Linked DNA regions of Homo sapiens: region 2 is linked to region 1. Evidence: promoter capture Hi-C in human tissues and cell types (Jung and others, 2019). All regions are on one chromosome and are shown on one strand. Each heading gives the region's core, a stretch centred on a gene start or on the middle of the fragment in contact. The rest is flanking DNA. Distances are from core to core; before and after follow the strand shown.

Evidence for each region. The method cuts DNA at HindIII sites, captures the fragments that hold promoters and counts their contacts. A contact is called where the count stands out against the background at its distance.
Region 2: a fragment that was not itself captured here is called in contact with the fragment with the promoter of PRAME in region 1 in 4 of the 25 tissues and cell types used here (H1 embryonic stem cells, dorsolateral prefrontal cortex, heart left ventricle and 1 more).

What each region holds. Positions count from the first base shown.
Region 1 is chr22:22,555,970-22,563,874 of GRCh38, reverse strand. PRAME (PRAME nuclear receptor transcriptional regulator) reads left to right here and starts at 4,610. Exons shown (of 6, transcript NM_206956.3): 1 at 4,610-4,904; 2 at 6,295-6,330; 3 at 6,966-7,063. The coding sequence starts at 7,043. It overlaps LL22NC03-63E9.3 (a long non-coding RNA gene), which reads right to left and starts at 4,532. Exons shown (of 3, transcript NR_027426.2): 1 at 4,468-4,532; 2 at 903-1,012; 3 at 1-208. It also overlaps IGL. RefSeq lists an enhancer at 4,399-4,693. The HindIII fragment of the contact is 17,569 bases long and covers 1-7,905 here.
Region 2 is chr22:22,727,323-22,735,227 of GRCh38, reverse strand. It overlaps IGL and IGLV2-18. Among named protein-coding and RNA genes, the nearest start is that of LL22NC03-102D1.18, 20 kb to the right of the region's middle. RefSeq lists an enhancer at 1,104-1,604. The HindIII fragment of the contact is 6,996 bases long and covers 1,801-7,905 here.

The sequences.
Region 1 (7,905 bases), core at 3,361-5,860:
GATTGGGAATCAGGGGCCATTTCAAACACGTGTTATTAAGTCAGGAGCCCAGTATGCACTAAGTGTCGTGGGAGCACAGCCAGCCAGTGTGACCCCACGCTGGGGGCAAGGAGCCTTGCACCAGGACTACACAGCCTGAGTTCCTTCTTGACTTGACCACTTTGTCTTGGACCTGTGGTTTGCCTTTTCTTACTGTCAGTGTCTTCACCTAAAAAAACACGAAAACAGCAGTAAAGTTCACAAACTCCTTGCATTCACCTGCTTAGAAAATCGAAAGGCAAATTGTTTCCATTAATCAGCGAGGTCTCTATGATTTTTATTCCCAGAATGGTTAGGTTGAGAGTGCTGGTCCCTTCAACTCCAGGTTTATTTTAGGTGGTCATAGAAAAATACATACTTTTCTCTCTCAGTTCTCTATCTCATCCGTGCAAAGGTTAGTCCCGACTCAGCCTCTCTCACTTCCAGGAGCAGAGCAGAACAGACTGTCAAATGCGTCCCCGTCCCTTGCTTCCCTCATTGCAGTCTTAAAGTATCTCTTGTCATCACTCTAATTCAGCACAGGTTGACTCTCACTTTCCAAAATGAAGATACCTCTATTTTCATTGCCGATCAAGGAAAAAAAAATCATATGTTTATGAACTGAGTGTTTGCGTCCCCCCACCACAAATTCATATGTTGAAGCCCTAATCCCCATTGTGGCTGTATATGGAGATGGGGCCTCTAAGGAAGTAATTAAGATTAAGTGAAGTCACAAGGGTCGGGTTCTCATAACTTTCAGCATCCTTATAAGAAGAAGCACCCATGCTCTCTCTCCACACATGCGCACAAAGGGGTCACGTGAGCACAACGCAAAATGGCCTCAGCCTATAAGCTAAGAGAAGATGCCTCAGAATGACACCCACCTTGCTGACACCTTGATCTTGGACTTCCCAGCCTCCAGAACTGTGAGAAATAAATTTTTGTTGTTTAATCCATCCAGTCTGTGATATTTTGTTATGGCAGCTGAAGCAGTCTAATAAATGATAAAAAAAAAAAGTTCAAGAGAATACAGAAAAGTATTTTATAACAAACAGTGTTATCATTTTAGTGACCATTTTCTGTACATGTTAGCCCACTTATCTAAGACATTCACAAATATGAATTACTGATATCCCAGGAACCTTGTAACTCCTACTCCCCATTTCAGGCCTAGCAGAGCCCCAGGAATATGGCATCCGATTGTAAAGAACTCGAAGCAATGAATGAGTGACTGTTATGGTCATACACAATTTTACATGAATAGAATTACATTAGACAATCATTCACGTGATCTGCATTTTTTTTTCAAATATTGCAGACAGACATCATCAGTCATAAAAAAGAAGGGAATCTTGCCATTTGCAACAATACGAATGAACCTGGAGGAAATTATGTTAAGTGAAATAAGCCAGATGCAGAAAGACAAATACTGTACGAGCTAATAATATGTGGAATCTAAAAAGTGGAACTCTTTTGACATGGTTTGGTAATATAACAAATACAAAAAAAATTAAAGGAAAGGGAAAAAAGAAACACAAAAAGTGGAACTCATAGAGGCAGAGTAGAATGGTAGTTCCCAGGGGCTGTGGGTGGGAGGAATGAGAGATGTTGGTCAAAGGCTACAAAATTTTAGTTATAAGATGGTAAATCCTGAGACTCTAATATACAGCATAGTAACTATAGTTAATAATGCTATATTATTAATTGAAATTTGCTAACAGAGCACACACACATTGACTGCTGGGGTGAAAGATGTGTTAACTAATTTGATTAATCATCAAACAAGGTATATGTGGATCAATGTATATGAATTGTACACCTTGAATCCATACAATTTTTATTTGTCAATTATACCTCAAGAAACCTGGAAAAAAATCAAACATTACAGACATCTTATTGTATTTTCTGTGTCTTATCCAAAAAAAGCACCCGGAGCTCAGCAAAGCACTTGATGTTTGCCCTCACACTGTTCCTCTCCCATTCCAGTTGTCGACCAAAAGGAACCATCAGACAAAAAACACCTCCAAATTTGTTGAATTTATTCAGGAATTAGAATACAAAATTATACGCTGGGCATGGTGGCTCATGCCTGTAATCCCAGCACTTTGGGAAGTCGAGTTGGGAGCAACACTTGAGGCCTGGAGTTCAAGCCCAGCCTGGGAAACACAGTGAGACTCTCTCTACCAAAAAAAAAAAATTTTTAATAAAGTAAATACATAAATTAGCTGGGCATGGTGGTGCATGCCTGTTGTCTTAGCTACTCAGGAGGCTGAGGTGGGAGGACTGCTTGAGCCCGAGAGTTGGAGGCAGTGGTGAACTACGATTATGCACTACACTCCAGCCTGGGTGACAAAGCAAGACCCTGTCTCAAAAAATAAATAAATATAAAAATAAATATAAATTTACAAAAAAAAATTAAAAAAGAGAAAAAGCATTATAACCTAAGATGCTCAGCTATGGCAAGCCATATATGCATCTCAAGAGGGGAGGGCAAAGGGAAGGTTGTATTGGCAAAAAAAGAGATTTAAATAAGCTGCTTGCAAACAGTTCACCGGTTATGAAGACTCAAAACCACAGTTGGCATCAGTTCATTGGTGGAGACGCTGTGCCTAGGCAGGTGTTCTTTCAAAAGCATCTTATCTAAATTGTTGTGATTCCAAAACAGGAATGTCTTGCAGGGCTATTTCGAAAAGTCCCGAGACAGCCAACCCTTTTTAAAAATATAGATGGGGTCTTGCTATATCACTCAGGCTAGTCTTCAATTCCTGGCCTCAGGGGATCCTCCAACCTTGGCCTCCCAAAGTGCTGGGATTACAGGGGTGAGCCACCACACCCAGCTTCCTGAGACAGCTTTTATCTCAGCCATGTAAGCATGAGCCCTTCCCTTTCATACCCTCAGGGTTTTACTTTGGGTCAACAAATAGTGAGTTTATTTTGGTATGTGCAACTTTCAAACACCCATCGCCATAAAAGAAAGGACCAGCCTTGGCCAGGCACAGTGGCTGATGCCTGCAATCCCAGCACTTTGGGAGGCCGAGGTGGGCGGATCATGAGGTCAGGAGATCAAGACCATCCTGGCTAACACGGTGAAACCCTGTCTCTATTAAAAACAAAAAAATTAGCCAGGCATGGTAGCGGGCACCTGTAGTCCCAGCTACTTGGGAGGCTGAGGCGAGAGAATGGCATGAACCCGGGAGGCGGAGCTTGCAGTGAGCCGAGATCGCGCCACTGCACTCCAGCCTGGGCAAGAGCGAGACTCCGTCTCAAAAAAAAAAATAAATAAATAAAGGACCAGCCTCGACTGACAGTCGGCACTCCGCAGGCATCCTCCACAATCCTCTCTCCTCTCTGCCTCTTGCCCTACAACCTGGCCATGCCATGATTCCTCCCTACCTGTCCTCCTCTGTGGACTTCATGACCACGCTCTGTCCTATGAGGCTGGACCAGGGTCATGTTCACTCACTTCTCTCCCCTCCCTGCCATTTGTTCCACTCCCCAACTTGTTCTCCACGCATCGATCTCAATGGAGCAACAGCAATCAGATGATGAAAATAAATAATGGTGGCCAGTCTTCAAATGGATCCCCTTTTCAATCCCGCACTATCCATCTGCTGCCTTCTCATCAGCCCTCTGCCCCAGTTTCTTTCCCTTCTCAAACTGGACAAGCACCGTACTCCGTGAAGATGTGTGCAGCCTGTTCCCATGCCCTGAACACCATCCCTTCAAGCTCCTCTGGCTGCTCCCTGCTCAGGTCTCAGAAAAGGAGAGCTGGGCAACCCTCCCAGGGAGCCGCCCGCCTGTGTAACTTTCAGTACCAGCCTGTTTGCTTTCTTGAGATAATTAGCTACAACGGCCACTTTAAAACAATGGTCTTCTTATTTTGTTTTTTGTTTTCACCCTAAACTTTATAAAGTCAGAAATCGTAAGTCCTTGAGCATCCACAGCCACTCAAGGACGAACCTTTGCTGAATGCCTCAAGCAGAGAGGGGGAGGCTGAGTCTCTGTTTCGAAGGTGAAAACACAACGGTTTTTATCAGCCCTGTTTTATGCGACAATCCCAGGTCGAATCTGGATCAATGCAATGACTTCCTTTGCATGGACCTATGTTTTGTTCGTGCATTCATCTGTGCAGCTGGGAACCCGCAGCTCTGTTCACTGGCATGGGGATGCCTCGGGGAATGGCAGGGCAGAGCCACAAAAAGCCAGCCTCACCACGCGGCCTGTTGCTCTTAGCCACCATGCCCATCATAGCCTGTGGCAGGAGATGTTGGGGTCCCCCCCCCCGACCCCTTTCAGGAAAACAGAGTTTGTGGAGGCGGAGTACTTCCCAGGCCTGACTGATAAAACAATTCAAAAGACTCAAAGAGATTCCTCGCCTGTCCCGTCCCTTGAAGGGCCTTGAACACGGGGTCCTTCCGCTTGGCTCCTAGCCCGTCCCTCTCCCCTTACCAGGAAAGGATCCTCCCCATCTCTGCAGAAGCCTGACCATCCCCCTAGAGGGCCTGGGAGGAAGTGGGTTTTGCATACAGTCCCTGTTGACTCTAGTGCCCCCTGCTGGCCCCAGACGCGAGTTCCGGCGAGGCTTCAGGGTACAGCTCCCCCGCAGCCAGAAGCCGGGCCTGCAGCGCCTCAGCACCGCTCCGGGACACCCCACCCGCTTCCCAGGCGTGACCTGTCAACAGGTCTGTATTGGCGACAAAAGGAGCAGCCCTGAATGTAGGGAAAGCAGGGCGGAGTCCTCTGCAGGCTCGGGGGAGGGGAGGGGCGTGAATGCGTGGATTTCTGTGGAGAGTGGAAACACGGGGAGTCGAGGGGAGCATGCGCGGGCCTCAGAAAGTTCTGGGAAACCGACTCCCGGGAGCAGGGAGGAACGCGCGCTCCAGAGAGTAAGTTAATTGAATCCCGGGGGGTGGTCTCTTCAGCCCGGGGGGTTACAGAAGTAGGTAAATCCAGAGATTACCCAGCCAAGGCCAGGGGCATCTTTTCTAGACTTGCGGGGCGGGGTGGGGCGAGAACTTGAGCTCAGGGGACCCTGGAACCGGCCCCTGCACCCCGCATCCCACTGAAGAAAAGGGAGGTCGCCAGAAGCACAGACCCAGGACAGAGTCCAGACTTGGACGTCTCCGTGATCCCAGAACACCCCGTCCCACACTCCCAGTCAGCCCCCCGCCTCCCCACTGCCTCTCCATTCGCCCACCGCACCCCCTTTTTCCACCCTGCCCCCACCCTACTGTCTGGTGGGAAAGGCCGCAGCCATCACGTATTCACCCATCCCCACCCCTCACCCCCCACCTTCTGACTTTCTTTCCACATCCCCACCCCCTCCCCCACTCTCTGCCTCTTTTCCCTCCCCCTCCCCAACCCTTTGTTTTTCTTACACATCCCCACCCCTCCCCCAACCTCTGTCTTCTCTCATCCCCACCCCCACCCTGTTTCCCTTCCCCCATTCCCGCCCTGGCCCGCCTTCTGTCTCCCTTCCCCCATCCCCACCCCTCCCCCCCTTCTGTCTCCCTTCCCCCATCCCCACCCCTCCCCCGCCTTGTCTACCTTCCGCCATCCTCACCCCTCCCCCACCCTGTCTCCCTTCCCCCACCCCACCCCTCCCCCACCCTCTGTCTCCGTTCCTAATCCCCACGCCTCCACCACTCTTTGTTTCCCTTCCCCCATCCCGACCCCCCACCCCACCCTGTGTTCCTTCCTCCATCCCCCCCCACTGTCTTTCTTCTCGGTTCCCCACCCTGTCTCCCTTCCCGCATGCCCACCCCTCCCCCACCCTGTCTCCCTTCCCCCATGCCCACCCCTCCCCCACCCTGTCTCCCTTTCCCCATGCCCACCCCTCCCCCACCCTGTCTTCCTTCCCCCATGCCCACCCCTCCCCCACCCTGTCTTCCTTCCCCCATTCCTAACCCTCCTCCCGCCCCCCCTTCCCCACCCCCATCTCCCCTCCTTCCCCACCCCCATCTCCTCCCCACCCCCAGCCTCCTCTGCTCTCCAACTTCCTCTCCCCTTTTCCCCTCCTCCTGCTCCCTTCTCCTCTGCTCCTCCCCCCACTGCCCCTCCCCCACTGCCCCTCCTCCTCCCAGTCTTTGAAAACAAGCCCCTCTCGACTCTCTGGGCGACCTCACTGGATCTCGTGAGATTTTGCCCTGGAAGGACTGAGAAACGGGGATTGGTCAGACCAGGCTGCCCAGCCCCCCGGTCCCCACCGCCGCCCCCCCCGCCCCACGCAGCGGCTAGGGCGCTTAGCTGAGCCATTGTCTCGTTCTTTCCTTCCAGCAACTTCGCGGTGTGGTGAACTCTCTGAGGAAAAACGTAAGTTCGAGCCCTGATTCCTCCGCTTCCCCGCAGGGTGACCTTGGGCTTGTGCCCCCAGCACCACCCCTGTCCCGGGTCCCTGTTTTCTCTCTGGAAATGGGTTGAAGACCAAAGAAAATAATGTGCGCCACTTGGGTCACCCCGGGCCGCCTGCCCCGGAAAATTGGCCCCAGTTGAGGAGTTGTGGCTGTAAGGATGCCTTGAACCGAGGCGGCGGTGCTCGTGGTTGGAGCTCTCCAGGGTGGGTGCGCATTTGTAATGCGGTGGATGCTCTGGGACTCGGCCCCTCTGAAGGTGCTGGGGGTTGGGGACGGCCCAGGCAGTGGCGTAGGCGTCCTAGGAAGGCGGGAGCAGAGGCAGAAATGTCGCTGCAAGACCGTAGTCAGGGTCCTTGACCACAGGGGTCACTTGTGACCAACCACATGGTCTGTTGTTCCTCCTGCCCCCTGGTTCAGCCCAGGAAACACTGGTGCTCAGGTTTGGAGCCAGAGATTTGCACTGAAAGGGCGGGATTGAGTCGCCAGTTGTCAGTTTCCTCAGCAGTATTTGCGGAGGTTTTCACAGGAGGCCGTTGCTTCGTAAATATTATACATGTATTCTTCTTTTTGGAGCATTTTGATTATTACTCTCAGACGTGCGTGGCAACAAGTGACTGAGACCTAGAAATCCAAGCGTTGGAGGTCCTGAGGCCAGCCTAAGTCGCTTCAAAATGGAACGAAGGCGTTTGTGGGTAAGAAGGTCCCCTGAGCTGTCTGAGGTGCTCAGAGAAGCCCTGTTCCCCTCTGTCCTTGTCACTCGAGCCAGATGGGAGCTGCATCCTGAGGTCCCTCACAGTAGACGAAGAGGCAGGAGCCGCTTTTATTGTTTCTGGTCATTTCCACAAAAGAGCATTTCACTTCCCGTGCTGTCTTTGTATGAGAGTCAACCCTAGGGTCGGGCACGGTGGCTCATGCCTGTAATCCCAGCACTTTGGGAGGCTGAGGCGGGCGGATCACCAGGTCAGGAGATTGAGACCATTCCTGGCTAACACTGTGAAACCCCGCGTCTACTAAAAGTACAGAAAGTTAGCCGGGCGTGGTGGCATGCACCTGTAGTCCCAGCTACTCAAGTGGCTGAGGCAGGAGAATCGCTTGAACCCAGGAGGCGAAGGTTGCAGTAAGCCAAGATCATGCCACTGCACTCCAGCCTGGCGACAGAGCGAGACTCCGTCTCCAAAAATAAAAATTAACCCTAGGCCAGGCATGGTGGCTCATGCATGTAATCCCAATCCCAGTACCATGGGAGGCCGAGGTGGGCAGATCACCTGAGGTCAGGAGTTCGAGACTAGCCTGGCCAAAATGGTGAAATCCTGTCTTTACTAAAAATAGAAAAAAAATTAGCTGGGCGTGGTGGCCCACATCTGTAGTCCCAGCTACTTGGGAGGCTGAGACAGGAGCAGGAGAATCGCTTGAACCCAGGAGGTGGAGGTTGCAGTGAGCCAAGATGGTGCCAGTGCACTCTAGCCTGGGCAACAAGAGTGAAACTCCTCCTCCAAAAAAAAAAAAAAAATCTTAATGCATTGTGGACCTTATT
Region 2 (7,905 bases), core at 4,049-6,548, 170 kb before region 1:
CTGAGAGAGAAGAATTCTCAAGGCCGCACTGCAGGAAGCCGCTTGCACTGGGCGAGGAAGCATCTTCAGAGCAAGGAGGGGGCCTGAGAGCCCAGGGCAGGTTTTGGTCTCAGTTCCCCAGGAACTTGGACCTCTGTGGAAAGTGCTGCTGCTTGTATATAAGCTGCAGTAATAATCAGCCTCGTCCTCAGCCTGGAGCCCAGAGATGGTCAGGGAGGCCGTGTTGCCAGACTTGGACCCAGAGAAGCGATCAGGGACCCCTGAGGGCCGATTACTGACCTCATAAATCATGAGTTTGGGGGCTGTGCCTGGGGGCTGCTGGTACCAGGAGACACGGTTATAACTACCAACGTCACTGCTGGTTCCAGTGCAGGAGATGGTGACTGACTGTCCAGGAGACCCGGACACGGAGGGAGGCTGAGTCAGGGCAGACTGAGCCCAGGATCCTGGAAAAAGGAAGAAACACATTTTAGTAAGTCAGTGCTGGGCCCAGGTGAGCCTGAGGAGCAGGAGTTAAGGATCAGCCCAGAGGTCCCCGAAGCCCCTTCCCTGGAGGCCTCACCTGTGCCCTGAGTGAGGAGGGTGAGGAGGAGCAGAGCCCAGGCCATGGTGGAGATATTCCGAGAGAGCTGCCTCCTGAGATCCCAGCACTGGGCCTGACCCCAGCCCTGTCTTATCCCCTCTGCCTCAGAGGAGGGCGGGGCCTTTATGCAAATCTGCACCCTGAGCTCCTCTCCTCACTCCACCCTCACCTGGGCCTGGGCTCAGAGACTTCTTCTTCCCTGGACAGCGGGGCTCAGCCGAGGAGATTAAAGTCCCTGTTTGTCTATTCTGATGGCAGGATCTTAATTTTTTTGTACCTGATTTGCTCAGGAGAGAAAGATCTGCTGACATCCCTTACCTGAGTGAGCTCCTGGCTCTCAGTGTCTCTGCTGTGTGGCGCCTGTGTCTCTGTGGCCCTCCAGGCCTGGGCACATGGCACAGTGCCCTCTGCTTGGCACCCACCTCTAGGCTGTCTCTACTGTCAGGAAATGGGGCTACCCACCCCGTGGAAACCTCTGCTGGGCATCATGGGTCCCTGGTCTCCACAGCTGCAGCCTCGTCCCATCCCTACTCCCTACCTTTGGTGCTGAAGCATCTGCCGCATTGAATCCCTGGAGCACATCAGCCACCCCAGGCAGTGCACCCACATCCACACGGGCACATGTGGGAGGGACCCTGTGGAGGGAACAAGGAGCACTGACCAGGGCCAGAGTCCTGAGCCCGAGTCTGCTGCTCCCAATCCCGCCCTTCCCACTCATGAGCAGGCCACTTGTCCTTCCCAGCCTCTAGTTCTCAGCCTGAGAAATGGGGACCAGAGAGTCCACTCTGCACACAGGTGATCCATGGGGATATGAGCCAGCAGGTCAAAGGGAAAGTTTGTTACCAGGCCTTTCTGTGTGCATCAGAGTGATATTTATTGTGAATGTTTGAATTATTGAAAGACTTATTTCCATTACTGTGATTTATCTGTCAGGTCACAGAGACGCGTTTCCTGCTTTCTCGCTTTTTCCCATCTGAGCGCATCCTCAGGGCAACCTAAAGCTGGCTGCTCTCAACCCTGCGACACTGAAGACACACAGACATTTGATAAATACATTTTTATTTTTTCTCAAAATAACTTGAATATCTTTTCCTCTTTCCTCATTGCTTATGACAAAATTCTTTTAATGTTTCATATTAAAATAAATATTAATGGATTCAGCTTCCATTTAAATATTATAACATACACTGTCCTGTCTTCCCACCTAGATTCATCTCTGAAACCATGACAAGGGCATGGAGCAGCTATTTGAGCACCAGGAAAGGAAATGGTACACAGCAGTTTGGGATGGCCCCAGCAGATGAAATAGAACAGTCAGTGTGAGACTCCTGGATTTCCTCAGTGTCCCCTGGCTGGGATCCAGACAGCCCCAAACCTGAAGGGGCACAAGCCTGAAAACAAAAAGAAGTCCAGAAGGCCCTCTTGTTCAGGATTGAACCTGGGAAAGAAAACTTTGGCTCCAAGTGAAGGCTCAGTCCCCTGCACAAGCAGGTGGTTCACACCTGTGTTCTCATCTCTCTCATACCAGCGCCTCTCCCTGGGTTCACACTGATGTCCTATGGAAGGAGACGGGGCTTCCTGCACCAGGTCACTCCACAGCCCCTGTAACCTGAAGCCCTGCAGACCAGCCTTGTTCAATCACAATATGATGTGAGCCTCATGGGAATCCCACTGTCTAGTTGTCATGTTATAAATACAAAGAGAAGAAGTCAATGAGTTTAAATAATGTATTTTATTTACCTAGCATATCAAAAAGAGTATCATTTTCATATATAATGTAAGTACAATTATTTATGATATATATCATATACTTTGCATGGCTATTGTTATTACTTTTTGAAGAATCTTGGAGATTGTGTGGCTGATGGAGATGTGAATGGGTTTCCTGTTGACAAGGGTGGGGTGTGGTGGCTTTTTAAGTGTCAACTTATGTGAAGGCTCAGTCCCCTGCACAAGCAGGTGGTTCACACCTGTGTTCTCATCTCTCTTACACCAGCGCCTCTCCCTGGGTTCACACCAATGTCCTATGGATGGAGATGGGGCTTCCTGCACCAGGTCACTCCTCAGCCCCTGTAACCTGAAGGGGTGCAGACCAGCACTGTTCATTCACAATATGATGTGAGCCTCATGGAAATCTGAATGTCTAGTCATCGCATTAAAAATACAAAGGGAAGAAGTAAATGAGTTAAATAATTTACTTTATTTACCTAGCATATCAAAATAGTATCACTTTCATATGCAATGTAAGTACAATTATTTGAGACATCTTATATATATACTTTGCATGGCAAGTGTTATTATTTTTTGAAGAATAAACTGTAGATCTTCTGTTTAAAATATAAGTCCAGTGAAATGTGGTCATATCCACATGTACTCCTGCTTCCCGTGTATACTGAACACAAGATTGATTTTCCCACCCCAATAAGAACAGCTGCACTGTAACTGGGAGCACCTGATGTTTCTGTCACTAAACCTCAGTGTGTACTTGAACCATCATCACCATCATTGTCATGGTATTTTTTCCATTAATCATAAGAACAAGAAGATTAAGGTAGAAAATTATGAGCCTAACTAGGTGGGACCTTTCTGTGTTCAAACCACAAAGGAGAAACTCTATAGCATTCCCTACAACTGTGGTTTTATCAGCATGGTTTTATTTTTCCTTATAAACTTAAATATTTATCAAAAGTTAACATTTCAGTGATTAAAATTGATACATTTCTTCCCCAAGATTTTGATCATTTTTATGTTTTTGATGTGAAACTGTGCTTCTTATTGCTAGAAGGCCTTTTCTTTCCTGTAGGAATAATAAAAATTACTTTTAAACAACATTAGGCCCCTGTTGGATCACAGGCCCTAAGTGGATTCCTAGGTCCCAGGTGCACATCAGGAGCACGTGTACAAGCAGGCCCTGGGTGGACTTACCTGTGTACAGGTAAGGATCTGGCCTGGGGGGAGGGTGAGCAGCCAGCAGCCCAGGGGGTTCTGAGTAGGTCTTATGGAAGGAAGGGGCTGAGGATACGGAACCTTAAAGAAGTGACTTCACTTCCTTGGTGATATACCCTCACAGAACTTAGAATTCTGGTAACCAGGCACCCACATCCTAGAGACAGTCCCGCAGCCAGTTCCCTTGGTGGGAGATGCTCAGGAGAGCAAGATGTTCTCATGCTGCATCCGCATATCTTGAGGCTCCTGCTTCAGGAGGGCCCAGAGTGACAGCCTTTTCCCATGATGCCGATGCAGGCTCATTCCTCACCCCAGGCACCTCTGGCCGAAGGCGCACCCAGGTACCACAGGACAGCCCTGGGCAGGCCCTACGAGGCCAGGCCTCACTGGTGATCCCATCCGGGCCACATCCGTGCATTGTCCTTGGCCTGCTGGAGCCTCTGGAGTTCCTCCAGGCACAGGCACATGGTGAGGGGGGGCCTGTAGTTTTGGAGACTTTGCGGGGGCAGTGTTTTTGGACTGGAATTCCTTTAATTCAGTGAGGCTGATTCTGTGTGTGGAAATTCCAGTGGAAAGTGACTGACATTGGTGACTCTTTCTTCTTTTTCATCTCCTGCTCAATGTGCGGCAATCCAGGACCTTCCAGCACCAGCTGATGAGCCAGTGCCAGCACTAGGGGAAGAGCCCCCTTCAGGGACAGAACTGGAGCTAGAGGCAGCTGCAGAGCCCTCCTGCCCCTGCCCTGGTCCTGCCAAGGACCAGCCCATTAAGGAGCTGCCTGACATCATGGCACCTGCTCTAGCCACTGGCCTCAGCCATGGGGCTGAAAGCATGGCTTGAGCAAGAGGTAGAAGAGAGCAGGTGGCCAGCACAGCCCCAGTCAGCAGCTGCCACTCTGCTCTCAGCCCTGGGCACTGTGGGAGGCATGGAGGCAGAGACCCAGGTATGTGGCCTGCGCTCCTCTGACTCACTGGAGTCAGCAGTGAGTGGTCAGCACATTTTGTGTCTGGTGAGGGCTTCCTTCCTGGTTCATAGACGGCCATCTTTGTACTGTGTCCTCACATGACAGAAGGGATGAGGAGTTCTCAGCCGTCCCTTTGATAGGGACACTGATCCCCTTCACGGGTTCTCTGCTTTCATCACTTAATCACCTTCCAAGGCCTCACCTCCAAATCCCATCACATAGGGAATTAGATTTTAACACATGAATTGGAGGGGACAGTAAGATTTGGTCTACAGCATCAGGACACTCTGAGCCCTTTGCACTCACAGGAAATCTCTAATCTTCTACAAGTGTTTGCTGGTCCCCTCTGGGTTTAGGGAAATTTGTAATTGCCGCTCTTGAGTCAGCTTGGTCCAAGCTTAAATTTTACATTTGCCCACATAACTTGTTCATGAGACAGAGGGAACTTTAGTGGCAACTGACCATTTGGGAGGTTTAGGGAATCCATGGGGGAGGGCTTGGGATCTGGATGAGCAGAACTGGAGGGAGGAAAGGAGAAAGGTGCAGAAGGAGAGAGGGCAGAATATGAAAGGGGAAGAGGACCTCTGGATACAAGGGTCAGCTGAAGGGCAAGGAAGGTAATTTTCCTTGCATTGTAAACTCGGATCCCGTATCATGTCAGCATCATCTGAGGAATACACTTTTTCAATGCATATTCCTGGGTTCTGGAAATGTTGATTTCATAAATCTGGAGTTATGTCAATTTATCTGTATTTATCATAAGAATTTTGGATAATTCTGATGAAATTAGACCACAAAGCAGAGCTTGACAACCACTCGTTTGGGATGTGTATCTGGAAGACATTTGATTATATGAAATAATCACAGAAAACTGAGGAGGAATTGTGTATTTAAAAATGCTTGCATATAATTCAGCTCTTCCTATATATGCAGTTTGACCACACATTTTGTCTCTACAATACTAAGATTGGAAATGTGCAGAAAGTCTTTTAAAAATCAAGTAGTCGGAGGAAAGGAGTTGGAGAGAAAAAACAACTGACAATTATCTGATAAGAAGAGAAGAGAAGAGAAGTGAAGGGGAAGGAAGTAGCATATTTTTGTACATTATTTGATGACATCTAAATTATAAGCTCAAATTGTGTTTCTAAGGAAGCCAATAATACAAGTTTTCAGAGTGTAGAGGGTGTAGTGCCAACACTGATTTGCTGGGAAAGAGAAGTGTACTCTGTCTTGCTGCGTAACGTGAAACAGGCTCAAAAAAAGGGTCAGTATTTAAGAAGTGTTTGTTTTATTGGTGCTGAATTATTTTATCTCATACTTAGTTGAAAGTGAAAGGGCTATAAAGTGCTTAGGTTGAACACAAAGTCCTCTGCTATCGGTAACATCTTCAGGAGCCGTATTAGAGGAGGGACACGTAGCAATGGCGGAGTGAATGACTCTTTGCTTATGCATTAAACCAAACAGTATGGCATGTATTTTATTAAGAAATCTGTTAAGATGAAGTAAACCTCTGGTTCTTGTTCCTAATAGGCACACTATTTGCTATGGCAGCAAGAACAAAAGGCTTAAGTACCAAAAACGTACGTTAACTACAAACATTTTCGTATAAACAAAACAATGTGAGCATCCATATATGACAGTAACTCCTAAGCCCAAAATATTTTTAACTGAGATTGAAATCATTTTCTGCATAACAAACGTTATTATTGTATTCTGAGATGATGTATTATTTGTATATGGATACTATAAATATTAACTTATTTAAGTTATTCATTATTTATTCAACAAATCTCTGGAATCTACAAAATGCTGGTTTCGGCACTGAATGTAGAATTGATATAAAATATAATACTTTTTCTTAGTGGTTGATTAAAAACACTATATATATATATTAGATAGAGGTTGTACTATTGAATCAGGCAGAGACTGACTTGCTAATAAAAAAATCAGGAAACCCAGTGTGATTATTTTTAATAATAATCTATATTTTAATACAGGGCTCTTGTTTTTTTCTCATAGAAATATATTACAATATGGAATTTCTGGTGTTTGGTATCTGAATGTTTTAGTATAGCAGGTATAGTGAGTTTTCCAAAGACATTTTACCAGCTTACTTGCCCATCAGTGACTCATAAGATATTACGTGGAACCACATCCTCTCCAACAACTTCTAGTATCAGTCTTTGTAAAGCGTGTCTATTAAATGGGTGTGGGTTTTGCAGGTGATTATTCTGTTACTGAAAGATACTAGGATACCTAGCTGTAATAAGCGAGGCATGCAGAGGCACATGTTTAGAGTGTGTCCCGACCCCGGAATTAAAACAAATCCAATTTGTGCCTCCACTGTTCAATAAAAAGTTTCCTTAAGAATCCAGAGATCAGGCATTCCTTTGAGAAACCACTCCAATATGGTTTCTCACCTACTCACTCCAAGAAAATTGCTCTTATCAAAGCACAAACAATATCCATATCGTTAAATGATGAATTGAAGCATAATTCCTCAGCCTTTGTCTTAATTTATGTATCAGCAGCATTGAAAGCAGTTGATCTCTTCCTCCCTCCTTTTTTCAAAACTTTCTTTGAGAGAATTCCAGAACACTTAACCTACTTTCCCTTTGACATTTTTGATAATTACCCCTAGTACTTTTTTGCTGGTTTCTTCTTGTCTTTATCACTTTTTTTTCTTTCTGAGATGAAGTTTTGCTCTTGTTTCCCAGGCTGGAGTTCAATGATGCAATCTCGGCTCACCACACCCTCCACCTCCCTGCTTCAAGCGATTCTCCTGCCTCAGCCTCCTGAGTAGCTGGTATTACAGGCATGAGCCACCACACCCGGCTAATTTTGTATTTTTAGTAGAGATAGGGTTTCTCCATATTGGTCAGGCTGGCCTTGAACTCCCGACCTCAGGAGATCTGCCCGCCTTGGCCTTCCAAAGTGCTGGGATTCCAGGCATGAGCCACGGCACCCGGCCTACTACTTTTTGGGTGTTAGATAACCACTGGACTCAGGACTTTGACTAATGTTTCTTATCTTTGCTTTCTTACTAATTTTTGTGTCACTCATTTCCTGATATTTTCTTTGATACCTTAACACTAGACTACGCACAACACTGTCTGACTTCTCCATTTGGACATCTGTTAGGAATGTCAAAATCAATAAGTCCACATGGAGCCACTGATACTCCTCAAACTTGCTCTTCCCCATTCTGTTTAATGGCACCTCCCATTTTATAGTTTCTGAGCTCAATATTCGTGGTGTCCGCTTTTAATTCTCTCTGTCACTGCAGATCTGTCGTTCTCTCTCGGTATCTGTCTGGTTTTCACTCTCTCTCTCTCTCTCTCTCTATAACACACACACACACACGCACACACATTTTTTCAGATCTGACATGTATGAAAATCCTGCCAGCTTT